2 separate regions of the Homo sapiens genome follow, and region 2 is linked to region 1. Evidence: promoter capture Hi-C in human tissues and cell types (Jung and others, 2019). All regions are on one chromosome and are shown on one strand. Each heading gives the region's core, a stretch centred on a gene start or on the middle of the fragment in contact. The rest is flanking DNA. Distances are from core to core; before and after follow the strand shown. Region 1 holds the start of FLVCR2 (FLVCR choline and putative heme transporter 2). Region 2 overlaps TGFB3 (transforming growth factor beta 3).

Region 1 (4,086 bases), core at 575-3,074:
TGCGAGACTGGGAGGCAGTGGTCTGGCTAAAGGACGTTTGCTTTAAATATTCCCATAAATATTTGCTTCGAGTATTTGGAGACGGCATTCAGGTTCACAACCTGCCCAGCTTTCTGGATCATAACCACATTGAGATGCAAAGAATTTGAGCTTCTCCTTCCAATAAGAAAGAAAGAGAAAAAGATTAAGACATGAACTACCCTTTCTAGGCCATGGAAACTCAGAGTGAGATTTCTACTCCATCCTGCTGGACTTGGCTCTAAATCCCAGGCAAGGAGTTTGGCACAAAGCACTGCTCCCACTGTCCTGGCTTCAGCTGTGTGTAAAACAAGGTAAAAGCAGTGCCAAACACCACCAGGCATGGCTTTGCAATTCTATGCAGTAGAGGAGATACTGCACTCTAGGAAAGCTGGTTGGTCCAACTGAAAGCACTGCCAAGTTCTGATGACACCAGAATAGTCTGATGCCCAGGGGCTGCTGCCAGACAGAAGAGCATTCCTGAAATTACAGGTCTAAGTTGGTGGACTGACACAGGTTCGAGAACGACACAGCGAAGGTATAGTATGTTCTAGAAGCATGCTTTTGGCTGGGGCAAGAGCAACTGTGGATGAAAGAGCAGGTCCCCCTGCTTTTGTTTCCCGCCTCTCTTACAGCATCACAATCACTGCCTGTCACACCCAGTTACTGTCACCCAGAGTCACAAACACTGTTGGACAATCAGCAAATTATAGCCTACCACACCCAATAGTTAGGTGCAATCTAACACACGCCCCTGGGAACATTCACAAACTGTTCTACCTACCTGATTGCCAAAGACAGCCACGGAGCAGGCTGTTGAAACCTCATTAGCCCCGAACCAGACGGAAGCGATGCGGGAGGGCATGCCCAGGATGAAAACCTGGGCCACAGAGCAGATGAGCTGGCCCACCACGGTGACCGGAAAGAGATGCGGCTTCAGGCTGCCCAGCTTCACCCAGGCCCCCAGGCAGTTGAGAGCCGAGCCAGTGAGAGCAATGGTGCGCAGGCCGAACTTCTCCAGCAGCCAAGCCACTGGCAGGAGCAGAGGGATGTAAGTCAGCATGTAGCACATGGACAGCCAGTCAATGGCAAAGGCACTGACACCGTAGAAGTGCATGAAGATGTTATTGATGGAGCCGTACTGGATCCACTGAAAGGAGTTGCACATGGAGTAGCAGCTAAACACCAGGACCACGGCCCAACGGCGCCTGCTCACCTTGATCACGCTGAGGTCCTCAGGGCCCGAGCTACTGGGGTGAGCCAAGCCACTGGGTTGGGCTAAGGCACTGGGGTGGGCCGAACTGCTGGGGTGGACAGAGACGCTGGGGTTGATGGAGACGCTGGGATGGACCGAGACGCTGGGATGGACCGAGACGCTGGGGTCCGCTTGGAGTGCGGACTCCGGCACAGGGGTGTCATCGCTCTCTTCCTGGTTGGGACCTTCATTCACCATCGCCACAGTCTCCTCTGGAATCCTGGAGAAGTGGTGAGGACTCCGGCAGTCTTAAGGGACAGTGGCCTCTGCTGGTCTCTTAGAGTTGAAAGGACACTTGCCTATTCCAGAAGAAACAGAGACTAGAGGCTGCGTAAAAGCCTCAAGTGGGGCTTCCTGTGCTCACCTCCAAGCTCCTGCTCCCACTTTTGCTTGGGGCTCTCTGTTGCCACCCGCGGCGATCGCTGTCCCAAGGCCGGCCGCACACGCCGCAGCCGGCTCCGGACCGCTCCTGCCTTGGGTCTCCCCACGAGGCGTTCCTTGTGCAGGAAAAGTTCTCTCCTTGCGCAGCCACTTCGCCCGCAGAGTCCTCTCCCGGGCCAGCTTGGGGCCTCGCCCAGTCGGGCACACGTGACCGCCCCGCCCCCGTCCTGCCTGGCTTCTTCCGCCCCCAACCCCCCCGCCACCACTCCACCCCCGACCCAGTGTCTCTTGCCTTCTCGAGCCCGGTCCTCCGGGCAGAGCAGTTGTTTCGCCACAGCTTGCGGGATGCATTCCTCCCCCACGCCCCGGGCGCCATGGAAACCGCCCGGTTAACCCCCACCCTTTGCACTGCCCCTCATATTCATTTGCCACCCGCTATCAGCGGACCCTGCAAGAAGATCCGCCTTCCCGAAGTAATGCCCAAAATAGAGCCTCTCCGGTGCCTGTCCGCATGCCCTGCGCGCGTGCACCAAAGCCCGGCGCCACCTAAGTGTTCTGGGGAATTCAAGAGGGATTCCCCAACTTTCTCCCCCTTGGCTTAGGCTCCCAGCCCTTTGCTGAACTAAAGAGAGATTTGTAGATTTCCCGGGCTGGTTGCGCTCCTGGGTTAAAGGGGAGTTACAGAAAACTCGCTTTACTCGCTTCTTTCCCTGCGGACGTGGTTTTGTCTTGGGGAGGTTAGATTTGAACCTGTTATGTGGGGCTATTTTTCCTGATGGATTCTGGGCGAAGACCCTAGGGTGCGGGGGAGGGAAAGGAGAGTTTGAAGAAGCCGAAGAAGCTGTCCGCGGTTGTGTGATGGAACGCTTAGCACAGAGCTGGCTCCGGGCTTGGTCTTGGAAGCGGTCTTTGAACTCAAGCAGCCCTAGTCTGCCACCTGCCGGTCCTAGCCCATTTCAAAGGGCAAACCCTCGACTCGTTGCACTGACCTCTGTCCTTGGCGAGGGATCCTGGTAAGGAGCCCAAATTCTCCCTGAGTTCAAACACCAGCTTAGCTACAATGAGGTGCCACTGTAGACCAAGGAACTCCACCTCTCTGCGCTTCAGTTTCTTCATCTGTAAAATGGAAATGATGAAATAATAGTACCTACCTCACCGTGTTGTTCTGAGACTTGAATGAATTAATACACGAATGCACTTAGAAAATTCCTGCCACATAGTAAGCATTCCGCGAATGCTGGCTATCCTAGCAAAAAGCTAACATTTGTTGTACAGTGCTAAACAAATTGAATGCATTAGCTCATTTATGCATCACAAGAATTCTGTGATAAAGTTACTATTGCTGGCCTAAATTTTATAGACAAGAAAACCCAGACTCAGAGAAGTGAAGTAACTTCTTTCTGAAGGTCCCAGCTGGCAAGAAGAGCCATAATTCTCGTTCAAGTCTGTAATCATTCAAGCTGTAGCCTAGCTATTCAAGCACAGTCTGTGGTTAGCAGCGTGGGCACCTGTGGGAGCTTTTTAGAAGGCCAGAATCCCCTCCAGTGTTAAGGCCTTAAAAAACAAAACGGCAACCACAAAACAACCAAGAAGGTTGTCAGGCCCAACCTAGACCCACTGAATTGAAAGCTGCATTTTAACAAGATGCCCAGGAGATTCATTTGTTTACACATTAAATTTTGAGAGCTACTGGGCATCACTGCTTCTTTATTTTTTTTTTCTTTGTTAAACTTCAGACCAGAAAATGAATAACTTGAAGCTCTGGGAAGTGGCTCTCCATTTTGTCTGCACATTAGAATCATATGAAGAAACTCTTAATATCCCAAGTGTTCGGGCAACACCCCATTTAGCGATCTCCGAGGGTGGACCTGAACATCTGCATGTCACAAGCTCCGCTGGTCATCCAAACGTGCAGCCAAGTTAGAACCACTGATTCCCAGGAGAGAACTAGATTCAAATGATCACTCCCTGCTTGAAGGCACCTACTTTTTGGTAGAAACTATAGAGTCTTGGATTATAATGGAATATTTGGAGAGGGAGTTCAGACTCAGATCTAAGAATTTCTACAGTAATTTAACATCTCGTATTGTCACTATTCCTCCTGTGTTTCCCATCATTCTCCAGGGAGCACAGAACTCTGTTCTTTTAGAAGGCCTTCTGAGACCTCTCACTGCTTCTTTTCCCTCGGTCATCATGGGCCTCTTCCAAAACTCTTCATAATATATTCTTAACTTCATTTTACAGATAAGGAAACTGAGGCCTGGAGAGGCGGGTGTGTTACTCAGCGTCCTATAGTGAAATAGCATCAGAACAAGCAGCAATAAAATGGGTGCTCCTTCCACGTGGCCTTTCCCATGAGCTCTTCTGGGGCAGCCCTTCAGCTTGGTGAGAGATTCCAAGGGGTCTAACCTGGGATTCAAGTGAGATTTGGA
Region 2 (2,500 bases), core at 1-2,500, 380 kb before region 1:
AGAAGCGGGCTTTGGACACCAATTACTGCTTCCGGTGAGACTGGGCCCACATGGGAACCAACATCTACTGCCTGCCTACTGCCCAATGGCTAGGTCAGGCCCCAGAGCCAAGCCACACTCAACAGAGGGTCCCTGATGCTATTCACAAACATCTCCAGGAAGAAGACTGAAAATCTCTCACAGAGATTTTCTCTGTGAAATCTCTTTCTGTTTTCCTGGGAGTCCCACTGTTTTTCCATAGGCTAACTCTGGAAGGAGCTGGCTGAAGTAAATGAGGAAAACTCTGTGAGGAGGAGTGTTGCTAAAATAGTTTGGATTGGAGAGGCTTGGTCAAAGCCTCTCCATGATTTCCATGTTTTAAGCACTTGTAGAGTGTATGTGTGAGATTAATGTAGGAGTTTCCATTAAAGAAGTGCTCAGTTAGTTCCCTATGAAGGGTCCAAGGATGCTACTGGATGGAGGCAAATAGAATGGTCTCCATTTGAACGGAAAGTTGGAGCTAGAGAAATTAACAAATGAATTCAGAAATTACTGGGTAGCCACAATAGAGAGATAGAAAAGACCCAGCTTCTCTTACTCAGGAGCAGTTTCACTGCTCATTTATAAAGGGAGGATAAAGTATGCATGCCAACTACTAAAAGGGAGAAGATGATCACGCCCATGAGAGGGTCCGAAGGATTAAGTGCTTTAACTGGGAGCAATGAGTTCACCTATGGACACAGGAAAGGCTTCAGAAGGGTGTGGAATTTGAGCAGAGGCTTCAAGGATGAGGTTTGGGGATGAAGGGATCCAGGAGGGGAAGCACTGCAGGTAAAGGAAGGAGCATGAGTGAGTGAGTCCATCTGGCCTCAGAGGATGCCGAAATGAAGCTGGGGAGAACGAATTGGGAAATATTTAGATCTGGAAACCATGTCTTATGAGGATGGTTGGGCTTGGGAAACTAGGGATGTTCAGTTGGGGGAACAGCTCAACAGCAAGGTATAGGAGAGGCAAGGTAGTTGCCACAAAGGCTGGCATGTAGATTTATTTATTCCATCAGTTAGGAACAAATCAGTTAGGAACGAATCAGTTATCAGTTAGGAACGAATCAGTTAGGAACGAATGATCTTGGCCAGTGACTTTAATCATAGTGATTTCTTGTTCACAAGAGGCCTGTAGCAGCAGGGTTAGGGTGGGCTGGCTGCTTAATGATGCCACCGAAGACTCAGGCTTTCTCTCTTTCCAGTCTGCCATGCTTAGTATGTTGGCTTTTCATCCTTTTCCTTATGGTCACAAGTGATTGCTAGGGCTTCAGGCACCTTGTCCACATTTAAGACAAGAAGGAATGAGGGAAGGGGAAGAGCCAGAAGCTTTCTTCTTCCATCTGTCACTTTTATAAATAATCGAATATCTTTGCCAGAACTTGCCCTTACCCCCTGCATACTTCTCCTTGTCTGATGGGTCATTACTGGGTCACATGACCACCGCTACTCTCAAGGGAGGACAGGAAAAGGAGCATCTGGTGTTTTCGACTCTGTAATGGGATGTCACAAGGGAGAAGGGAGTTAGGAATGGTTATTGAATAGATAACCAATGGTGTCTGCCATGGTTCACCCTTGGAACCCACAAGAAGCCAGATTTTGGCTAATAGCTGCCTTTGGAAGTAGCAAGTTCTAAGTCTCAGCAGATATTAAAGCAGAGGCTAGCTGTCCACTTGGCAAGCGGTATTATTGCCAAATGATCTCTGTAGGCAACAGAATTGAAGGGGCCTGATAATCACATTTGGGTGATCTGTTGAACCACGGTTCTAATAGAAGGATATGCCTTATTTGGCTAAATGGCCTTTGGATTGAGTCTCAGCAGTCACCTACTATAGTAGTCAAGCTGCATAAACTTAGAATTGATTTCTGTCTGGGTGCACATTAGGAGGGTAAAAATAAAACCAACCTCAACAAAGCTGAGTTGGCTAATAACATTCAGTGCTTGGTTTTATGTGGAGCGCTTCATAGCACTGCTTTGTATTGTGATAGAAAAGGGTGCAGGGCCACCTTTGCCTCTTTACTCTTCCTCATGCAGCATTTATCTCTGTTTCTTACATCCTTGGGATCCTGGTCTTTAACACATGAATGTGCCTTTCTGGTTTCTTCTGCCCCATGCCCTTGAACCTGGGATTCCATTGATCAGAGCCACCTATGATGGCATGAAAGGACTCCAAGGGAGAATATGAGAGCATTCATGAAGTTTCTTTTATTGGTGGTTTTAAGTTGATTTTCTATAAATGTTTTTTGTTGTAGCAACTTGGAGGAGAACTGCTGTGTGCGCCCCCTCTACATTGACTTCCGACAGGATCTGGGCTGGAAGTGGGTCCATGAACCTAAGGGCTACTATGCCAACTTCTGCTCAGGCCCTTGCCCATACCTCCGCAGTGCAGACACAACCCACAGCACGGTATGGAGCAGGCTCATGCCATCTGAGGCACTGGGGCTGACCGACCAGACCACTTGTTAAAAAGAATGAGTGA

The links. The method cuts DNA at HindIII sites, captures the fragments that hold promoters and counts their contacts. A contact is called where the count stands out against the background at its distance.
Region 2: a contact is called between a fragment that was not itself captured here and the fragment with the promoter of FLVCR2 in region 1, in 1 of the 25 tissues and cell types used here (hippocampus).

The regions. Positions count from the first base shown.
Region 1 is chr14:75,576,358-75,580,443 of GRCh38, reverse strand. It overlaps FLVCR2 (FLVCR choline and putative heme transporter 2), which reads right to left and starts at 1,824. Exons shown (of 10, transcript NM_017791.3): 1 at 803-1,824. The coding sequence starts at 1,471. It overlaps FLVCR2-AS1 (FLVCR2 antisense RNA 1), which reads left to right and starts at 856. Exons shown (of 3, transcript NR_110552.1): 1 at 856-2,667; 2 at 3,899-4,039. RefSeq lists a silencer at 1,879-1,948 and an enhancer at 2,659-2,718. The HindIII fragment of the contact is 9,380 bases long and covers 1-4,086 here.
Region 2 is chr14:75,960,850-75,963,349 of GRCh38, reverse strand. It overlaps TGFB3 (transforming growth factor beta 3), which reads left to right. Exons shown (of 7, transcript NM_003239.5): 5 at 1-34; 6 at 2,274-2,427. Among named protein-coding and RNA genes, the nearest start is that of TGFB3, 20 kb to the left of the region's middle. The HindIII fragment of the contact is 7,313 bases long and covers 1-2,500 here.